Linked DNA regions of Homo sapiens: regions 1, 2, 4 and 5 are each linked to region 3. Evidence: promoter capture Hi-C in 16 types of primary human blood cells and fetal thymus (Javierre and others, 2016). All regions are on one chromosome and are shown on one strand. Each heading gives the region's core, a stretch centred on a gene start or on the middle of the fragment in contact. The rest is flanking DNA. Distances are from core to core; before and after follow the strand shown.

The links. The method cuts DNA at HindIII sites, captures the fragments that hold promoters and counts their contacts. A CHiCAGO score of 5 or more calls a contact.
Region 1: a contact is called between a fragment that was not itself captured here and the fragment with the promoter of BET1 in region 3, in 1 of 17 cell types (fetal thymus). The highest score is 5.8, in fetal thymus.
Region 2: a fragment that was not itself captured here is called in contact with the fragment with the promoter of BET1 in region 3 in 1 of 17 cell types (non-activated CD4 T cells); the score reaches 6.9 in non-activated CD4 T cells.
Region 4: a contact is called between a fragment that was not itself captured here and the fragment with the promoter of BET1 in region 3, in 1 of 17 cell types (fetal thymus). The highest score is 7.1, in fetal thymus.
Region 5: the fragment with the promoter of PON2 here is called in contact with the fragment with the promoter of BET1 in region 3 in 3 of 17 cell types (naive CD8 T cells, erythroblasts and total CD8 T cells); the score reaches 7.2 in naive CD8 T cells.

What each region holds. Positions count from the first base shown.
Region 1 is chr7:95,475,319-95,479,771 of GRCh38, reverse strand. It overlaps a transcript of ASB4 not described here. Among named protein-coding and RNA genes, the nearest start is that of ASB4, 8.4 kb to the left of the region's middle. The HindIII fragment of the contact is 872 bases long and covers 2,166-3,037 here.
Region 2 is chr7:92,448,442-92,452,760 of GRCh38, reverse strand. GATAD1 (GATA zinc finger domain containing 1) reads right to left here. Exons shown (of 5, transcript NM_021167.5): 2 at 3,884-4,009; 3 at 2,001-2,060. Among named protein-coding and RNA genes, the nearest start is that of GATAD1, 3.1 kb to the right of the region's middle. RefSeq lists an enhancer at 4,110-4,159. The HindIII fragment of the contact is 596 bases long and covers 1,998-2,593 here.
Region 3 is chr7:94,001,845-94,006,178 of GRCh38, reverse strand. BET1 (Bet1 golgi vesicular membrane trafficking protein) reads left to right here and starts at 1,824. Exons shown (of 4, transcript NM_005868.6): 1 at 1,824-1,981. The coding sequence starts at 1,963. RefSeq lists enhancers at 1,258-1,887, 1,898-1,947, 1,402-2,007, 2,008-2,614. The HindIII fragment of the contact is 1,547 bases long and covers 1,147-2,693 here.
Region 4 is chr7:95,498,240-95,502,675 of GRCh38, reverse strand. All of the region lies in intron 2 of ASB4 (ankyrin repeat and SOCS box containing 4), which reads right to left. Among named protein-coding and RNA genes, the nearest start is that of ASB4, 15 kb to the right of the region's middle. RefSeq lists an enhancer at 1,277-1,326 and a silencer at 1,625-1,919. The HindIII fragment of the contact is 1,319 bases long and covers 1,616-2,934 here.
Region 5 is chr7:95,432,331-95,436,368 of GRCh38, reverse strand. It overlaps PON2 (paraoxonase 2), which reads left to right and starts at 1,341. Exons shown (of 9, transcript NM_000305.3): 1 at 1,341-1,491. The coding sequence starts at 1,418. RefSeq lists an enhancer at 984-1,554 and a silencer at 1,229-1,658. The HindIII fragment of the contact is 3,363 bases long and covers 376-3,738 here.

The DNA of each region.
Region 1 (4,453 bases), core at 1,352-3,851, 1.5 Mb before region 3:
CCAATTCTCTCAAAGCTAAACCCACAACAGCATCCTCATATCTGCTGTGTTCTAGGCCTGATACATAGTAGGTTCTCCAAAATGGCTTATAATTGATGATAGTTTTGTTTCTTCTGTAGACAAGCAATAAAGTGCATATTTTATCAGTGGATATTCAATATTTAACACAAAAAAGTGGGGCAAACACACAAAAAATTTTCAAACCACATTAGGATTTCAATGATCTATTCCCAGAGGCCATCTTGATTTGGGGGCATGGCCACAATATTATAATAAAGAGCCAGCAAGCTAGTACAATTAAAACTATACTTTTATAACAATACAGATCAATTCTGTGGACTAAGCATACTATTTCATAAGAATAATTACCAGGGTTGTAAAAATCACATGAAACAACGTATATAAACGTACTTTGCATATTGTGAAGCATTATAGGAGAGTTACATATTATTACTGTTGTTCATATCAGTGGACTAATAGAACATCACAATTTTTCCTGAGAAATACTAAGTGGTGTTATGGTGAAAGACCGTCAGACTGAGACACCTGGATCGTATTCCCAGCTCTGGTGGTCATAAGCTGTGTGTTTCAAATAATTCAAAATACCTCTCAGTGACTTCTTTTCCTGTAAGTAAAATGAGACCTACTAGACACACTCCTCAGCCTTTAGGGCTTTTTTCTCCCTTATGGAACACAGTGTCCTGGACATTGGCAAAGATTAATACCATTTTGCAAGGGCAGAAGACCTTGCTGAGATTTTTTGAAAGTCTTCCCTGTGGCAGCCATGTTATGGGCTGCCCTTGTCCACAGACTGATTCAGGTTCTGTCTTCAAGCAGTTGGGGGCGCTGGAAGAACTGCTAAGATGCTTCAGCGCTAAAGTTCGGCGTATTCATTCTCAATTGTAATTACATACTGGGAGCATGTGTGTTTAACATAAAATCTGTTCAACAATCCTCACAAATGGCAGAAATGATTGCTTTGTAAACGGGAGGGTCCAAAGTCCTACGCAAGCACATCTTCGCTTGGAACTCTATTTGTGGCCTGGCATCCCTCTCTTTGGAATGCTGAAGTAATTATTTAGCCGCTACTGCCCACTTCTTGGATCCCATATCAGCGAACAAACCAGCTGCCTTTCATGTAAGAGTATTTAAAGAATTCGTAGCTAATTACCCTGAGTGTTTCCGGAGAATCTTGGTCGCTGGCACGATGCTAGATTGTTCCGTTTCAGCGACTCTCTTTACAGGTGGTGGATGTCAGAATGGCTGGATTGACATAAGCAGTAACCAAGCACTGGCCCACCTGAATTTTGACAGACTATTCATTTCACGTCATCTTTGACTGTGAAAGACAAGGTTTTTTCAGATCAAACATCCCTGCCCCACAGAGGGGGCATTAGCTCTGTGTTCCAGGTCTCCTAGCAACTGACCTGCATTTACACGCCGTCCAGCACAGTTTAAACATCAACACCAGCTTGTATTTCCATCCCTCACCCAGTTACACACTTCACAACATCAACTCGAGGGAATAATTTACCATAATTTTGTCTCTTCAGAACATTTACCTCACAATTGTACTCCAGGCAGCATTTGCATCCTCTTTTTACTTTTGACAAATTTATGATGCAGAGGTGCAGTAAGAAAAAAAAATTATCCTTCCCTTTTAAGGGGTAAAGAAATTGGACTGTCCTCTGTAACGTTCTTTTTACACCCACAGTTGTCAGAAGCCAATAAGTTGTTTACCAATTGCAAAGATTCATCAGTTTTATTTTATACTATGGAAGTATCTAATTCATGAAGGAGCAATCCTCAACACAACACCAAAACTATGGGATATTGCAGGAAAAAAAAAATTGCACAACAAATTTGCAGACAAAGCTGCAGTTAGGAATGGGAAAGAGGAGTGGAGAGAAAGGGGGCACATATTTTCAGAAAACCATAGAAAAATAGTATACCTAAAGAGAAACAACACTCTTGCTTTTTAAAAGAACTTAATTTTGCTTGTAGAATCACAGAATTATAGCAAAAAAAAAAAAAAAGGTTCTTGTTAAGGGTATCAAATCTTCTCATTTAAGAAAAAAAGTACTGAGGCCATCTCACTTACATGTTTGCACAAAATTGCATAATTAATTAGTCGCAAAGCGAAGTCTCCAACCTAATGTCAAGCTTCATACTTTAGTTTTTGAACTACACAACGCTGCCTTTCTGTAGTTTTCTATAGTTTTGCATCTCCTCTCCCTAAACTGATAGTGTAAAGAAAAAATAAGCAGCCACACTAGTGTATATAAGCAAAGCATTCCACTCTTTTTACAGTAGATAAATTTGTGAAAACTTGACAAATTTATAAAATGAGCAATGTTCAATTATTATTTTATATATTTTTTGATGTGATAACTATATACTTGAGAAATTCAAAAGGTGACGTAGAGTTGACCCTTTGGCAAATATTTTAAGGATGCCATTTCAGAAAGGTATTAACAAACACAGCTTCAAATAACGAAGCACATTTTAAAGCCACAAACGTTTTTCTAGAGAGAGAATCAAAATTAAAACCGTGCTGCTAGTTGTCTTTTAGGGACTGTGTTAACACGTCAGGCCACATGATGGCAGTGTTCCTCGATAAATGAACCCGGAAGAACAGCTGCAGTATCCTGGGGAAAAAAAAAAAATCCAAGCCAATGCGGATAAAACGTGATCCAGGTTAAACCACAAATATGGATTTTAAAAATTTTGTTTTAATCCACGTAAACCATATCTTTCCTGATCATATTTTCCTACAATGAATTTCTCTACTGAGAATTTGCTATTGGTTTATGATTTCATAAAATAAATTTCAATATGTATCTAACAAATACATAAATTAAACATTGTTTGGAGGAGGAGTGGGTTGTCCCTTTATTGTTTGTTTTTGCTACAATGGTATTAAGAAGAACATTCAAAATAATAAGCTAAAAATGTTTCATACCATGTGTCTCCAGATTCTTTACAGACCGTTGTCTTATGAGTCTCTGTCTTTGGGTGTGGGAAAGCAAGACAAGCTTGCTTCTCATGCTCACAATTTTTCTCCTAGGCTGAAAATATTCCCTATAAGACCAGAGTGTGATTTCCTGAGTCCTTTCTAAAAAGGCGTGAAGCCACAGATGGAGGTTAAAGCAGCAGCTACTGTCAGTCAAGGCCCCAGGCAAGACTGTGAAATCAAAGATATTGTTCCCGTTTCCCAGCCCTGGTCTTTTCTAGTGTCTGTAGCTGCCCCTTGATTGCTCCAGGGGGTAAAAGAGCTAGGCTTGTCCTCTAGATCTTCCTTCCATTTCTTGATTTCTCATAGGTGAATTTTGTATTTTAAACATGGGCTGTGAGCTTTCTATAAATTTTTTTTTAAATATAAAAAAGAATGTCAGTCACCTGCAAGAGAATATTTTGGGACAAGCATGCAATACGCACCTACCTCACACAGCTAACAGCCTTGGCTGAAAGCTATCCGATGACTCTGGGCTGGGCTGGAAGCCTTGCCGCTGCATACCACAATTTGAACACTATTGACTGAGTTATTATTAGGTGTCTGACACTGTGATAGGTGTAGTAGGGACCGACAGATGTGTAGGATTCAGCCCCAATCTCAAGAACTTATAGACGAATGAAATTAGACCATACTGGTTATACAATAAGGCAGACCAGAATCTACTGTGCCAGAAATACGAAACACAGGGAGCTGGCATTATAAAAAGGAAAGATCACACCATTCGGTTTGAGGAATCAAGAAAGATTTCACAGAGGAAATGGTATTTGAAATAGGATCTTGGGATCTTGATATATAGAGACCGAAAAGTTCAGGTGATTTGATTTCTTTGTTTACACTGTGATGCCATTTAGGAAGGCACCCCATAAATCTTAACTAAGTAAAGATTCTTCACAACCTTGCCAGCTCATGGCAAGGATTAGAGATGGGGGAGAGAATGGCCATCTAATTTTACTAAAAGATAAAGAATATGAGCAGGAAAAATAGAAGATGACACTGGAATACATGATTTGGTTTTATAAAGACAGAAGACCTTGAATGCAAGTAGAGCAATTTAGCTATTAAATAAATTCAAGGCCGGGCACGGTGGCTCATGCCTGTAATCTCAGCACTTTGGGAAGCTGAGGTGGGTGGATCACCTGAGGTCAGGAGTTTGAGACCAGCCTGGCCAACATGGTGAAACCCCATCTCTACTAAAAATACAAAACTTAGCCAGGTGTGGTGGCACGCACCTGTAGTCCCAGCTACTCGGGAGGCTGAGGCAGGAGAATTGCTTGAACCTGGGAAGTGGAGGTTGCAGTGAGCCAAGATTGAGCCACTGCACTCCAGCCTGGGTGACAAAGCCAGTCTCCATCTCAAAAAATAATTAATTAATTAAATTCAACCTGCAATGGGGAGTCACTGACCACTGCCAATATTCTAGGTTGTGATTTTACTTCT
Region 2 (4,319 bases), core at 1,046-3,545, 1.6 Mb after region 3:
GAAAGATTCCAGTGGTAGGCAGTGCCTGGCACATAGTAGGTATTTATTAATATGTGCTGTGTTGTGTACACATATATAACACCAAACAGGACTAAGTCACTGATCTGAGTAGTCTCCTCATTTGCTGAGAGGATTCAAGGTTTCTGGTAGAGAAAAGGGGTCCACACGAGAACAGCACTAGTTTAGGCATCACCAGATCTGAGTTCATGGAGTTGTTCTGCCACTGCCATGCTCCAGGGAGGCCACTCAGCCATTCTGGGTCTTGGGTGGTCACACTCTTGGCCGTGATCCCCAGTGGCTCCCACTCAGGCTCCTCTTGCATGCCTGATCTGGGCTCTAGCTCAGTGGCTGGCAGTGACCTCTTGAACTTGCCACCATGGTGCTGCCTGCCAGTGGCACTGCTGTGATAGCCACTACAATACTGGGCATTTGCAACATTACTTGACTACTTTGTTGCATTATTGTCCTTATCATTTAATAAACATGGGTGGCAGACAACAATACGAAAGTACAGACAGTCACAATAACAGGTCCCACACACCCTTCCATGGAGACACACATGGAAACTGTTAGTACACTAAACCCGTAGCTCAACAAGTTGCTTCTGGCCTTAATCTGTAAACTGTGAAGGTAATGCACAAATACGAAGATGTGATAACTCCTACTATTCATTGAGTGCTTACTCTGCTAAGTGCTTAACACATATGATTTCATTTGACCCACTGAGGTAGTAACTATTTACAATTCCTATTTTACAGATGAGACATTAGAGAGGTTGGTCCTCGTCACATAGCCAGTCACTTGCTAAAGCTGTAGAGCCAGGAACTATGCTCTAGGCTTAAGCTCTGGCATGAGACTGCCTCACTCCATGACTTGTTGGCTATGTGATCTTGGACAAGTTAATTAACCTCGCTGTGCCTCAATGTTCTCATCTAGAAAATGGGGATAGTAGTATCCACCTCATAGAGTGAACTGAATGAAATAAAGCATGCAAAATGCTCAGCCACTGATACACAGCAACTGTTTGCTAAACTTTAGATATTTTATTAACAATGTATTAAATGTTGGAAAAATAAGAGAGATGTTTGCCTGTGTACAGACTTTTTTTGTTGTTGGTTTTTCCCAGCCCTGCTGAGGAATGCCAGTGTACCCCTGTTGGGAGGAACAGACTTCGACTATATAGATTGTGGGCTTAAAAAAAAGTATACTTAAGGGCATCATCACTTGAGTTTCTCAGTCCACCTGGGTCAAGTATAAAGTACTAACTCACACCACTGTCCCCTAAATGACAGTTCAGATCCCGAAACACCAAATAGCCTTCAATGGTTGCTGCCTGTGCCGTGCCAGGCCTGCCGAGCCTTGGGGGTCTATGTTCTAATTCCTTTCCTAAGACTTCTGGTTTAAACACAACAATCTGTCACTTCTCTCACTGAGGTATCAGATGTTCATGGACTTTGGCCCTGGGAAACCTGACCTCCTCATTCTTTTATCAAAACATCTTGGAATTCCTCTCACTATGAATTTCTAGTAGGTGTTAATCCTCACTACTGCCCTTACTCAGCTCAACTCCACTTAAAGGCATTTTAGAATCTCTGGGCCTACTCTACCCATTTGACACCACAGTCGACAACCTCTACTAGTCCAAATCCTGTCTCTGTCCTTCTCATTCTTCAATGCCATCGCACTAACGGCTCAGTCTTCCATGGCTCCACACTATACAATCAGCATTTTAAGAATAATTCCTACAATCTACACTAAAAAAAAATACTTAAGATCCTCACATCATGTGTCAGTAGGCACTTTCTCCTCCCACTTCAGCTCTAGATGAGATGTTTTAATAACAGCCACTTATGGGGGAAAACAGCTAAGAAGGGAACAAAAAGTATAATCACACCTTATACAAATAAAGAGTAGCAGAGACCTTTAGACTAATCCAACATTTTAGTGGCACATTACCCACTAGGCCCAACTCTTCCTTCAGTAACTCTACAAAAGCTTACCTTGTAGAAGATTGATTCTGCAGTGATTATAGTGGAAACTGACTCAGGAGCTTTGATGGGCTATGAAAATACAAAAAACATTAGCACATTCATAGTATGTATGTGTCTACAGGCATTTTCCCAGCCCTATGAGAGTTCTGCAATTTGAGAAGTACTAAAATGTATTGTTTGGTGACAAGAACTGCAATAAAAAGATAAATGATTTTCTGAATGTTGTGGCAAAGCAGTCTATTTCCACTGCAATTTCTGCTACTATTAGCTTAAAAATTGCTGAGACAAAGGACAACCTTCTGATTATGCTGCTGAGATCTAATGCAAAGTCCTCTCAGAGCTTCACTACACATAAACATTCCAGTTATAAAAATGTACCTGCTCTAATAGCCTGAGCATGACAGAATGCAAGTAACAGAAAATGTACAGATGAATACAAAGTGAAAAAGTGTCTCCTCAAAGACATTTCCCAACTCAACTATGGAACTAGCCATAATACTCAACATAGGTTTTCTAGCAAGCTGAAACTAAGGCTTTAGAAACTTTGAGAGTTCTTAGTAATTTGCTACCATCCAACCATTTTTGAGATCTCTACTAAAGCTTCAATACATACTTTTATGCCACAACATAGAAAGTAGGCCTCCCCAGATGTGTCTTGCTTAGTACCATTGAAGAAAGGTTGCAGAGAAACGATAATGAAATAATTGCTGAGAACACGGTATACCATACTTAAAAGGAAAAAAATGTGCATATGTGATACAAATATCAATAACATGTTTTGTGTAATCAACAAATGCCTCACTTAACTATAAAAATCTTAAATAAATTAGAAGCAACTAGTCTGAATAAGAAAATACTTTGGGGAAGGGAACATCACACACTGGGGCCTGTCGGAGATGGGGGCCAAGGGGAGGGAGAGCATTAGGACAAATATCTAATGCATGCGGGGCTTAAAACCTAGATGATGGGTTGATAGGTGCAGCAAACCACCATGGCACGTATACCTATGTAACAAACCTGCACATTCTGCACATGTATCCCAGAACTTAAAGTAAAATTAAAAAAAATTCATTAAATTAAATTAAAAAAAAAAAAAGAAAATAGTCTGCCATCTGCATAAGTCTACTGCAGGGTCCCTTTGTGTTTTAGAAATAAATATGGCCAACTTCAGAAACGTCTTTACGGGTAAGTGAAACATTCCTGTTCTGAAAGAAAAGAATATCATACTGAGACTTAAAAAAATAGTCCATAATGCACTGTCCACTGTGTTTGAACATTATCCCTTGTTTATAAAAACTGAGAATTTAATTGCAATAAAAATATGCTTTCAACTACTTCCAGCACAGGTCTTTCAACAATCTCTTTTCTTAGAGCAGAAGAGGAGATAAGGCTTAGCAAAATTTTTGACTCATATTCATCAAATACATCATCATCATAAGTCAGTAAGATACATTTTCTGGGGCTTTAATAACAAATAAATATGCAAATGATGAGTTCTAGTGTTAATATTTACTTAGATTTTTAAAGAATGAAAAAAAAAAGTTTTCTTAGTGTACCTGGCCATATCAAGAACCATAATCTCTCCTCTTCCTTTCCATAGAGAACCCCAAAAAATGGGCTCAAGGTTGATGTTTCTTTTAAACCCATATTTTATATTTTCCAGGGGAAAAAATAAAAGCTAAAAAACAAAAAGGAAAGAGTATTATTAACTTTATAAACAGTGAGCCTCCTGCAACAGAGCTCATTCCCTTTTGGGGAATCTGGACCATTCCCCAGAATACTAAGGAAGGGCTACCAAGGGCAGAGTCCAAGTTCAATGGTGAGAAATGAAGGCAGTGGCAGGATACACACAACGTCATTACAGTAAAAGGCACTGTCCACAAATATCTTACATTTTTCAATTTAAATATATGTCTTCTCCCTTTTCCTTTGGTGGAGACTTTCTTTTCAGCAGCCGGAGCAGATTTGTATTTAGTGTTTCTGAGCCGAGCAGACCTCCTGTGAATTTCCTGCTTACTCTGTTACACAAACAAATTAAAGAACAAAAAGAGAAAGAAGTAAAAAGTGCATAAAGGTTGCAGTACAATCATCTTACAAGGATCCCAGAGTATGTACTTTATAAGAGCATTTAACAATTAAGATTGCCCTTTTGCTTTTCAAGAGAAGTAATTACAGCAACTAGGCTAAGTAAAACCGGAAGTTCAGCACCCGGAATCTCGGAGCTCGCTGGACAGGCGTCTCCAGAGCCTCCAAAAGGTGTGAGCTGCTTGTAATAGGGCAGGAGGCGGGAGTAGGAGTCAGTCTTGACCAAGACAAACACTATTCATT
Region 3 (4,334 bases), core at 575-3,074:
GAGGTTCTAAATGCTATTCATCTCTGTGAAATTTATTTGCTTTCAATCAGTAAGAAAAGTTAAGGATTTTAATTTAAAAAGGAAAAAGCACAACGAGAAAAGTGAAAATGATTCCCTCTGATCGCTAATGTCAACTATGGTCACATTTAATAATTCTTTTTCTGCACATTGAGTTCATTTTTCCTGCCTCTTCCTTTGAGTGCAAATTTTTTTCAGATGACATTATCCTAATTTGATACTAGCAACGTTAGCTAAAAACAATAATTGGATTTTTTAGGTAACAACTTCAATATGAACTAGCTTTGCCTTACTTCAGTTATATTCTTAGTACATTATATATGTTTTCCTTTTAACTACATTTCATTCTTATGTCTTCCTACCATGTAAAGGAAGCAGTATATTTTATGTAATCTAAATGATTAGTTCTAGTAAATATTACCATATTTTCAAAAATAACGATTTCTACATTTCCATCAGCAAGCCTTCTGTAAGGCAATTTTTAAACGTTTTAATTATAGAACATGCATTTTTTTAACCAAAGGACTGTCACAGATTTTAAGTTATAAAGGGATACCTAGCTATCATTTCTTTTATTGAATCTCCATCTTTTATTTGTAATAATTGTCCCTGATATTATGCTTATTTAATTTCATTGCTTTTAGAAAATGGCGGTTTTATTTTAATGATTTTTTTCTATCAAAACACTATTGGATAAAGCCTCCTTCCCAGGTTAATAACTCTTATTAAAAATTGTTTTCATGTGTTTTTTACAAAAGCAACTTAACGCAGAGACTTATGCCAGTATTATAGTCAATGTTAATAATGTCCTGGGAAACTATGAGGAAACGCTAAATGATCAAAGATCACATATTCGGAAATCTCTAGTGTGGAGACGATTCCACTGCCATATATACAGCAGCAACAACAAAACCGCAGACACCCAGTGAATTTTGATCACCTACTGTGTATCAGGTTTTTTTGTTTTCCCTTCAAAAACCACGATTTCATCGTATTCTCACGATAAATCCTCTGAGATAAAATGAAATTCTAGGATTAACCTCGATACCAGTAACACCTCCAACTCGCCAACAAGTTTTAAACCCCTAATTGGCACACTGCCTTGTGTAAGCAGTATTTCAATAAGCTTTGTGTAAGTTAAAAAAAAAAAAGTGGGAGAGCGTTTAGGGGTCCTTTGGTCCCCATAACAACTAAAAGTCTTGGTTCTTTCTAGAAGTACAACAGATGCAGTAACAGGGAACTAACTATTCAGTGCCTCTGACCAGATCCCGCAGCCTTTCCTAGTCTGCTCTCATCTGAGCAGGAGTCCTACTCAAAGGAACCTGGTTTTCTTTCCTTTACTGGATACTACAAGGCACAAATCGGTTACTTCTGTGGGTGTCGGATTACTTGTTTGTAAACTGAGAAACCTGGACAAAGTTTTCTCTAACTTTCCCTGAATCGTCTCTGGAGGTGAGAGGGAGTTCGAGGCTAAATCAGGAAAGATACCCCAACCATCCTCTTGTGGGTGGGGAGGAGCAGATCTGCTGGGTTAAACTTGGTGGTCAACAAACTGAAAGCAGCGACCCGCGGGCTGCGAGCGGAACAGCGGGAACGTTGGATCAGAGACCCAGAATCAGAGCCGCAGTCGAAGCCGCCCCCTTTTCCGGACGCCCCGTCCGCTCCTGGAACCGGGTTCACATCACGCCCTCAGCAACACGTTATGCGTTGGTGAACTACATTTCCCAGAATGCCTTTCAACCTTCTTCCCAGGGCTCCAATGAGCGCCGTGGTGACGCCATCATCCGGCGCGGTGTTTAGACTCCACTGATGTCGTGGCGCTTTAGGGGAAGAAGTTGGTGTTTCGCTGGGCCCTGGTACTGAAGACGCGGTCCGGGTCGCCCCTAGCTGTTTCCTACTCACCCAAAGCCCCGCACCCGCCTTTTCTCTCTCTCCTCTGGCAGGATGAGGCGTGCAGGCCTGGGTAAGAAGAGGGCTGAGGTTCGAAGTTCGGGGCCCTAGAACCGGGAGCGCTGGGGCGCGGGAGGAAATCGAACCTGTCTTATGTTCCTGGCATTTGGTCCAAAAAACAGGATGTCTAGAGGGGATCTTTGGGGTCCATGTCGAGTGGAAACACACCATTTGTCCCAGATCTTTGGAATTTCCTTAAGTTTGAGTCAGATTCAAGTTTGGATGGTAGGCTAGAGAAAGTAGTGGACTAGGGGTGGGTGTGTACAGGTGGCATCTCAGTGGTCGAGTGTTTTAGTGTTATTGACTGAGCGTGGTTATGGACGCTGCTATGTTTTCCAAAGCCCGACTCCGGTTTCTGTTTCCCTACTGGCCCTGGATCTTAGTTTCTTCAGAAGCGGAATTTGAAGAGTGGGTGGTTGCACCCAAAGCACGCTAGTAATGGTCGTTAATCTGGTAACAGTGAGTTACAAAGGTAAATGTATGTGTCATTATTGTTAAAGGTCCTGGAACTGGAACTTCTGGGTCAAAGGCGATTTCTTAATCTGAACCTTGTGCCACGGTTAAGGCAGTAGAACGTGGTTAAGGTTTGGCGACTTAACATTTGATCTTTACCTTTGGGGTTAGGAAACTGGCTCATCAGCAAGAATAAGTTAGACACAAGGAATTTTAATGGACCCTTATAGTAACGCACAGCTACTAGAACGGCATTTTCTGGTTCTGAAGCTTTCTCTTAGGACACGATTTTTTTTTTAAAGAAGACCCCGCTAAATTAGAGTGCAGTATACTTCAGAAAATAAATGAAACATTTGAAAAAAGATATTACCTTTCTCAGTCATTATAAGATTGAAAAAAGAAAAAAAAAATCCCCAAAGTGTCAGATATTTAAAGTCAGTGAAAGTTGCCAATAACCGTAGACTTGTTTATTGATCAATAAATTGTAGTATGAGAAAGTTTTTTGTTTTTTTAATGAAGTTTTTATGAATACTTAGATCATAGAAAATGGGGCCAGGTAAATTGAAGAGAAAAAAAAAAGAAATAATTTTGAGCAAGTTTAGCTTTATATGTCTAAATGTTTTTCTTGTTCATCATCCTTAATACCAAAAAAGATTTATTGTGTGCTTGAGTAAGCTCTAGGTATACAGTTGTTTGTTGCCCTGTTTGTGATCCCCAAAGCTTCCAGTCTAGGTGGGGAGTAGGAATATGTGCAAAGATAAATTGTAGTACAAAGTGTCGCTATACATCCAAATACCAGATAAGTTCTACATATAAGGGATGGTCTCAGAGATTTCAGAGATAGATCACTGTGTACTTTGTGGGGAAGATCTTTGTGTATTTGGTGGAGACATAGGAATTTGAAGTAGACCTTGAATAATGGAGAGTGGGGGAAGTGAGTTCCAGATAGGAGGAACTCAAAAGAAGTAAGGGATTATGATTAAGCCAGTTTGGGTGAAGTAGGGGATTCGGGATCACACTGTGGAGATCTTTGCATGCGAGGCCAAAGAGTTTGGATTTCATCAGTAGGCCCCTAGGCCCTTTTGAGTATTTTCCTGCTGCAGTGTGCCATGTTAAATTGCAGGAAAGTGACTTGAGTAATGGTTCTCAGCCCTGACTGTACATTAGAATCCCTTGGGAAGTTTTTAAAGTATTGTTACCTGGACCTCAGCTCAGCCAGTAAAATTAGAATTTCTCCAATTTAGAGCCCACTACCTTCTCCTTTTTTCCTTTTTTTTTCTTTCTTTTTTTTTTTTTTTTAAAAAAAAGCTCTTCTGTGATTGAGAGGAGAAGTAATTACCTAGGTAACTACTATTGCTATAATTTACATTGGTGTGAAGTGACAAAGGCTTTTGTTACACATTTTTTCTTTTCTTTTTTTTTAAAGTATGAATGCATATTGACCTGAAATTTTAAATTTGGGATCATAGTGAATCTGATACATATCCATAGGCAGAAGCTGCCACACTTCACATGAATCTCTAAATGGTTTTGTTAGCTTACTGATAGAACCTATCCAAAAAAGTAGCGTTTATCTAAATAAACAAAGGCTGAGGATGATCTTCAGTACTCACTAGCTTTTTTACAACTTTTCATAGCAGTACACCACCAGAAGAGAAGTGGCTTTGTTTGGAATAGCAATTCTAGCATTTTATTTGGTTTTTACTTTTGTCATTGTATTTGGGATGGGTCATAGTTTGAGGGAAGATCAACTCTTTAATAGGAATGTGCATTGATATATTTCTGGACGATAAATACAACAAGAATTTCACTTTGAATAAATGGAACAGCATGGAAGAACTCTAAAATTAAAATTAAGATAGGCAAAAGCAACTAAACAAAGGAAAGAAAAAATAGCAGTTAATTTATAATGA
Region 4 (4,436 bases), core at 1,026-3,525, 1.5 Mb before region 3:
AAAGTCTCTAATTTCTAGTGTACTGCAGGTCATGTGACCAAGCACAATTCTAAGTTACATGATCAGTGTCTTTCTTTTTCTTTCTCCCCAGTTATCTCTTTGACTTTAGGTATAACCTAGTTCAGAGATAACATCTAAAGTCTGAATTTGAGGCCCTAAGTAAATGACAGCCCTGGGTAAAATGGTCTCCTGCCTAGAATTGGTCCCTAATCCTAGAGGCGAATTTTCTAAGTTACAAGAAAGTTTTAAGCTTTTGATATGTGTTATCAATTTGCCCCCCCCCCGCAGGCTGGTACCTATTTACATTCTATTAAGCGTGTGTAAGAGCACTTCCCTATGTGTTTGTCATATATGTATTATCTTTTGTATGCTTATTAACGTAACAAACAACAACAAAATAGCTAATTGTCATTTTAATTGACATGTTACTGATTACCAATGAAGGCTATCATTATGTCATATATTTATTTGCTGTTTATATGATTTTTCTTTTTTTTCCCTTAAATATTCCTGTTCTTGGTCGTTTTGTTCTTTTTCTTTTTTTACCTCTTTCTCTCTCTTTTTTTTTTAGTTGTTAGCCTCATTACTTTAATTGAAAAACTTCTGCGTATAGTAAGCCCTTTGTCATATAGTCTCAAATATTTTCCCCAGTTTTATGATTGCCTTTTAATTTTATGGTGTTTGCCCTTCTGAAGTTGAACATTTTTGCTTTCTCTAATTTATCTCTATTTTCTTTGTGAATTCGGCCTTTGATGACATGGCTTGAAAGAGTAAGTGGATCTTTAATGGACTTCTATTCTCTCTCCTTGATTCTTATAAGCCTAATTCATTAGTGTCAGCCTACAAGCATTGCCCAAGCTTCCCCCTACCTCTTTCTTCCTTCTCATCTCTAGGTAGTCTCCCTCTGTTGACAAGAACAAAAGAGATGGGGAATAACTGTACCGGCTGGGAAAGGTGACACCTCTAGGGAGTGAAAGGTTGGCCACTCTGTCAGTTTGTGGTTGATGAAGTCACATGAAAAGGCCACAATGTAAAAAGTTAACAAAGTTTCAGTTACACCGGATGATGAATAAGTTCTGAAGATCTAATGTATAGCAGGATGACTATAGTTAGTAACACTGCATTGTTTACTGGAAATTTGTTGAAAGTAGATCTTAAGTGTTCTTATTTATGATTAAGATGAAAAGATGGAATGCGGTGAGGTGGTAAGAGCAGCGTCTGTCCAGCAGGCCTATCTATTTCGGATTAAAATGAAGGCCAGTGACATCTTGCCTTACCATGTTCCACTTCATTGACCAGGGAATTTCCTAACATGTGGTTGACTTGTGTCACTGTCAGATAAAGTAGCAGGGAACAGTCTTTTAAAAGGCATGGCCCCCTTTACATTGCCCCCATGCTACATTCTGCTAAGAAACATTTGAATTTTTATGGCTTTCCTGCAGTAACAAATTTTCCTCCTACTGTCAGGATTTGCTTCATGCAGAGTAAAGTGGGCAGCTTTCATTTTCATTTCATTATTACGAAAAGTGAGACAAAAAATGTTTTAATTAGAAAGTTAATGATTAAATTAATATATAATTTCTAAAATTCCTTAAACTCTTAAAAATAAAAAGCTTGCATGTTTAAACTAATTAAATTTAAAAATCAATAAAGATAAAAACTAAATCTAAACATAAATGAATGAGTAAATGTGAAGAGTGGTGATGGCTACACATAGAAAATGTGAGTAAGCTCCAAATTATGCCTAACCTTGTCCCTGTAGCTTCCTTCCTAAGTGGGAGGCTGCAAAAGCGAAGAAGAGCACAATTGCTGGAGGGAGGTCACAGGTCACTATTATCTACAGTTGGAGATCAGAGGAAAACCTTGTGTGCCAAAGTAAGTGATTCATAGAAATAACAGTTGAAGATGTATGAGACAGGATAACTGAAAGGTTCCAGTCTTTCAGAAGTTGAGATGAGATGAAATCCAGAGAATATGGGATACAGCCTCATTTTTAACAAGTGAACCAAAGAAGAAGGAGAATATGCTGGGCTGAATTTTTTCTTCCCCTTCATTTCCGCAGGTTGAAAAGATCATGGCTTTTTTTTTTTTTTTTTTTTTTTTTTTTGAGACAGATCTTGCTCTGTCACACAGGCTGGTGTGCAGTGGTCCAATAATAGCTCACAGCAGCCAGCCTCAAACTCGTGAGCTCAAGCAATTCTCCTGCCTCAGCCTTTCGAGTAGCTAGGAATACAGATGCACCACCATGCCTGGTTAATTTATTTTTCCTTTAGTAAAGATGTGGTCTCACTATGTTGCCCAGTCTGATCTCAAACTCCTGGCCTCAAAAGGTCCTCCTGCCTCAGCCTCCCCAAAGTTCTGGGATTACAAGCATAAGCCACGGCTCCTAGCCACATGGCATCTTTTATAAGTCCAGTAATCCTACTACATTTCTCTAGTAAGTTTCTTCTCCCATTTTTTTTCTCCCGAACCTCCCATTCCTTCTCCATTCTTATGAAAATGTCTATGCTTTCTGCTCTCCTCTCATTTTTTGGCTGGTGACTTTGACACATTGTTGAGGGGAAAAACCATCCGAACTCCCTCATCGTAGCACCATCAAATCTATAAATATTCTGGCATTTAAAACCATCTTTTACTTTGTCCCGCTTCTTAAAAATGAGGATGCTCCCAGCTACTTGGGAGGCTGAGGCAGGAGAATGGCGTGAACCCGGGAGGCAGAGCTTGCAGTGAGCCGAGATCGCACCACTGCACTCCAGCCCAGGCGACAAAGCGAGACTCCGTCTCAAAAAAAAAAAAAAAAAAAAAAAAAAGAGGATGTATCCCGTAGTCTCTGGATTTAATCTCATCTCAACTTCTGAAGGACTTTCAGTTATCCTGTCTCGTGCATCTTCAGCTGTTTTCTTTCTATGAATCATTTCCTTTAGCACACAAGCTTTTTCTTTGATCTCCAACTGTAGGTAAGTCTTGCCTGTGACCTCCCTCCAGCCCCCTCCAGCAATCATGCTCTTCTTATGTTCACTTCTGCAGCCTCACTTCTTTTTACCAATTGTTTACCTGTGGCATCTCTGGTTTCTTACCACCCATTTGCACTTTATACCATTCAAATCTGGCTTTTAACACTGTTTCACCAAAACTATTTTTGTCAGTGATAACTCTGTCACCTAATCTAATGAACATCTAATTAACCCTGGGTAGCTATCACTATAGCTGGCCACTCTCTGCTTCTGGAACCTACTACCTCTTTCTTTGTCCTTGTGTTGCCAAAATACTCTTGGTTTTCTCCAATTTTACTTATCAGTATATCTTACTCTCCTTTACTGGTTTCTCCTCATCCTTCTAACATTGAAATGTTAGAATTCATTGGGGCTTTTTCATAGATTCACTTTTCTCTATATATACTCTTTATCCAGGCGATTCCATTGATTTCCTTGACTTCAAATACAATCTATAGGCCAACAATTCTGAAATTATACCTTTAGTCCAGGGCTCTGTTCTGAAATCTATACTTTTATATAAAGTGCATCCTTGACATTTTCACTGAAGTTTCAAAGAGATATGAAAACTCTCATACTTAAAACTGATCTAGGAGGACTCACTCTATCTGATTTCAAGACTTGATACAAACCTGTGGCAATCAAGTCAGTGGAGCATTAGGGAAAAAAATAAAAAGATATATAGGTCAATGGAATAGGCTGGAGTCCAGAAATAAACCCATACATATATTGCCAATTGATTTTTGACAAAAATACTAAGGCAGTTTGATGGTGAAAGAATATTCTTTTCAACAAATGGTGTTGAAACAACTGGGCATCCATATAAAAAAAGACGAACCTAACCCATAACTTATACCATATAAAAAAATTAACTCAAAATGAATCCTACACCTAAAAGTAAAATCTGAAATGACAAAACCTCTAGAAATAAACATATGAAACAAATTTTTTGCTAGGAGGAAAAAAATTGGTAAATTGAATTTATCAGAACTAAATACTTCTTCTCTTTGAAAGATACTGTTAGGAAAATGAAAAGAAAAGCCACAGAATGAAGAGAAATACGTGCAAACTATGTATCTGATAAATGACTAGTATTCGGAATATATATCAAGAACTCTCTCAAATCAATAAGAATACAGGCAACCCATTTCTTTAAAGGAGTAAAAGTTACAGACATTTCACCAAAGTAAATAATATACAGATGGCAAATCAATACATGAAAACATGTTCAACATCCTTAGTCATCAGAGAAATTCAAATTAAAACAATGAGATACCATTACAAACATATTTAGAATGGCTAACATTCTAATGATCTACCCCCCAGTAGAGGGACATTTAGAATGTTAGCCAATATGTTAGCTATTCTAATATGTTTGTAATGATTGCAAACTGATGTTGCCCACGCTGAACTCAAACTCCTAGACCCAAGCAGTTCTCCCAC
Region 5 (4,038 bases), core at 92-2,591, 1.4 Mb before region 3:
GCATTTTATTGTAAGCATTTATAAACATTATTCTAAGAAGTTATCCACAGGCTCACCACTGCCAGAAGGGTCCACGACACAAAAAAGGTAATGCCTCATGGGCTTTCAAAGGACAACTTTTTACTTCTCTTTCTACCATCCAGTATAATCCAATATCCTTAGGACTGAAGCAGAGATACACACACACACAGGGAGAGAGGTGTTTGTGCTTTTTTTTTTTTTTTTTTTTTTTGGTGAGAGGCAGGTGGGAAATTGGCATCCACTTTTATTTACTGGTTCTTTATAAAACTGATATTTGTTGAAAATTGTCAAGTGTGACCATTTCTGCCTACATATTGTAGGGTGGCAATTAAATACCGAAAACCATTAGAAGCTTATTTCAGATGTACTCATTTATTGTAATGGTATCAATCTTGATGGGTAAATTTCATTTTACTTTTAAAATTGTATTTTAAATTATTCCTTCATGTTACGGTTGTTAGAGTAAAAACGGAAAAGAAAAAAACTACACTTCTTCCCTTTGAGTTTGGATGAAAAAGACGTGTCTAAGTCCTTAAGTCTGTAGTCTGGAAGTATTAATAGAGGCTGGGCATGGTGGCTCATTCCTGTAATTCTAGCACTTTGGGAGGCTGAGGCAGGAGGATGGCTTGAGTCCAGGAGTTTGAGACCAACCTGGGCAACACAGCAAGACTCGGTCTCCACACACACACACACAGACACACACACAACTTACACACACTTAGCTAGGTGTAACGGTACGTGCCTGCGGTCCCAGCTACTCAGGAGGCTGAGGCTGGAGGGTCCCTTGAGTCCGGGAGGTCCAGACTGCAGTGAGCTATGATTGTGCCAATGTACTCCAGCCTAGGCAACACAGCGAGACCCTGTTAAAAAAAAAAAAAAAAAGTATTACGAGGCACAGGATGTTTATTTATTCGCAACTACGTCCTGTTATAAAAAGTAGTGATTCCAACGTGAAATATTTACACGACGCATCCCGTTACTTTCCCTCCCTTGGCCACCGACCCCCATCCCCAAAAGCTGCTTTCTATGTAAGTTTCTCACTGGAATAGCGAGTGAGAAATGTGTTTGAAGACTAGGGAAACGAGAAAGGTATGCGGGCTGCTAGAGGGTTTCGGGTGGGTTGTTTGAAAAAGGAAGTGAAGGAATTCAAAGTTTCACATCATGAGCCTAATGTAAGGCGTGTCCGGGCCGTCCCGAAGGTATCTGGGGAAATAGGTTTGTGAGGACAAAGACCAGGGCCAGGCCCAGGGCGGAGCCTCCGCGGCCCCGACGCAGGGACTCGGCCTAGGCGGAGGACGGGGCGGAGCGCGGCCGGCACCATCGAGCCGGGAAGATGGCACCGCCCACGGAGCTGCTGGCCAGGCCGGAGCGAGGCAGCGCGCCCGGCTCCCGCGCCATGGGGCGGCTGGTGGCTGTGGGCTTGCTGGGGATCGCGCTGGCGCTCCTGGGCGAGAGGCTTCTGGCACTCAGGTAGGTGGGACTCCCGCGCGCCCCTCCTCGGCGGTCCCCAGGCTCGGGGTGGCCGCGTGGTGCGGGGAGGGCGCAGGCTGGGGGAGGGATTCCTGCGGGACCTGGCCCTGCGGCCGGGGGTGGAGAATTTTTGAATGCTGTCCCTCCCCCAGCTAGTTGAACCCCCATCACCCCGACTCTCCGCTTCTAGTGAAAAAACTAGCAAAGTTTGGAGTGAATCGCGACACTTTCTTGAAAGTTTATAAGCCCTTGCTGCTAACAAAGTTCTCTTCTGCTTAGGCTGACAAGAGAATGCTTTGCAATTACCCAAGGGCCAAACTAGTGGTTTAAATTGAAAACAAAATGACTACTCATGCATTGAAACCTTAACTATGAAGATTTATTTCAGGTCATTGGTGCTGTTTCTCCTTGTTGCCCAAACCAGACCCGTCTTTAATAAAGTTGTTCTCCACCCATTTCTGCATAGTTTGAGAAACTCTTCAGCTGTAGATCAAAGACACTTGAAATATTCAGCTACTGTTCTTACTTCCTATTTATTCACCAGGGAAGCCTGAAGCCAGAATGCCAGACAGCGCAGACACTATTCCATCTCGCATTTTAGTTTTAATGAAAATCTCTGGTAGGTAGACATCATCGTTTATAAATTACCAACTCAACGTTTGTTTTTTGTTTATTTTATTTTTTGTAGAGATGGGGTCTTGCTGTATTGCCCAGGCTGTTCCCTAACTCTTGCACTCAAGCAATCCTCCAGCCTAGGCCTCCCCACAGTGCTGGGATTACAGGTGTGAGCTGTTCTGCCCTGCCTCAACCAAAATTTTATAGGCCTCATGCAAAAGAGTTCCAGAAAGACTGAGCACCTGCTATGTGTAATGTTCTCTCTTAGGCTTCTATAGTAGAGTACGACCCTTATGGAGTTTGATACAGGGGAAGAGAGAATTAAAATACAGTAAATGTATAAATTAGGATGTTCTAAGGACAGACACAAATGAACCGCATAGGCTTAAAGAGGAAAGATTCCATCCCCTGAGGGTGGAGTTCTAGAGGGAGGAAGAGACATTCGACCTGACCTTGAAGGGTGGGTGCAACACATATGAGCATGAAGGGGCCCATGCCAAATGTATAGTGCAGCAGGAGCAAAGGGGCTAAGGTGGGAAGTTGGAAGACTAGCAAATGGGCCAATTTGAAGGGAGCATAAAGTCAGGAGATGAGAATAGTAGGGTGGTGGGAAGGATAGGTTTTGAGGCCATTAAATATAAGTTGAAAAATGGGGCCCCACTTTCATAGGCCCAATAGTGCTTCAAAAGGGAAATATTGGTGGGTTTTGCTTTTCAACAAGAACTTAATATAACTAGTTGTGTTTTATAGAGATAAGCCTGGAAGGGGGGATTGGAGGAGAGCAATGGTTCTCTGTACATTAGAATCTCCTGGAGGGCTGGTGTCTGAGTGGCACCACCAAAGATTCTGATTCAGCTGTTCTGGATCAGAATCTACAGCTCACACCTGTAATCCCAGCACTGTTGGAGGCCTAAGCCAGAAGATTGCTTGAGCCCAGGAGTTAGTGACAGGCCTGGGCAACATAGCAAGATCCCACCTCTACAAAATGAATAAATAAATAAATAAATAAATAAAAAACAAAATTTGAGTTGGTAATTTATAAACTATGGTGTCTACCTACCAGAGATTTTTCGTTATAATTAAAATGTGATATGGAATAATGTATTGTTTGGCAAGCTGGCTTCAGGGTTCCCAGGTAAATAGATAAATAAGGAAGTGCATAATGTAAGAACAGTGGCTGACAGTAGCAGTGGCATTTTTTATTTTTAAAAACATTCCTGATAATTCTAATGAGCAGTCAAGGTCGAGAACTACTAGAATAGAGAGCAGACATGGGGTAACTGGTTAAGGTATTGCAGTAGGTCAGAGAGGATAACAGGGACCCAAACTCTGGAACCCCAGGGATGAGGGAGAAGTCAAAGGTGCTACCAGAGTTTGTGCCACAGCTCCACTGTCCCATGGTTGTAGTTTCATCTACTGATAAAGCAGTGCAAAGAGGAAGCGTGTGGTGGCTGAGATGGGAGTGAGATTTGAGGAAAGAACGCTTATGGGTAGGAAATGGACATGTTGACCTTAATTTTCATGTTAGGTAATGCCCATTGTGCTCTACAGAACATTCATGAGTTGGATGACTTTGTATATGATCTGTCCTGCTCTCCATTTCAAAGGCAAGACCACCAAAATTCACAAGCTTATTATGTTGTCACTAATGTGTAAGCCACCAGTTTTTCTGCAAGTTGGAAGTTTTCTCAACAGTCAAATATTCCCCCTTCTCACTAATCTTAAGGTTTTAAAGTTATAGCTGCAAATCTAAAAAAAAAAGAAAAAGTAAATAAAACTTATTGACAGAATGCCTGATAGTTTATTTACAGGTTTTTGTTTGTTTGTTTTTTGTTTTTCTTTGTTTTTTATTTTGACACAAGGTCTTGCTCTGCCGCCCAAGCCAGAGTACAGTGGTACATCAAAGCTCACTGCAATCTCAAACACCTAGGC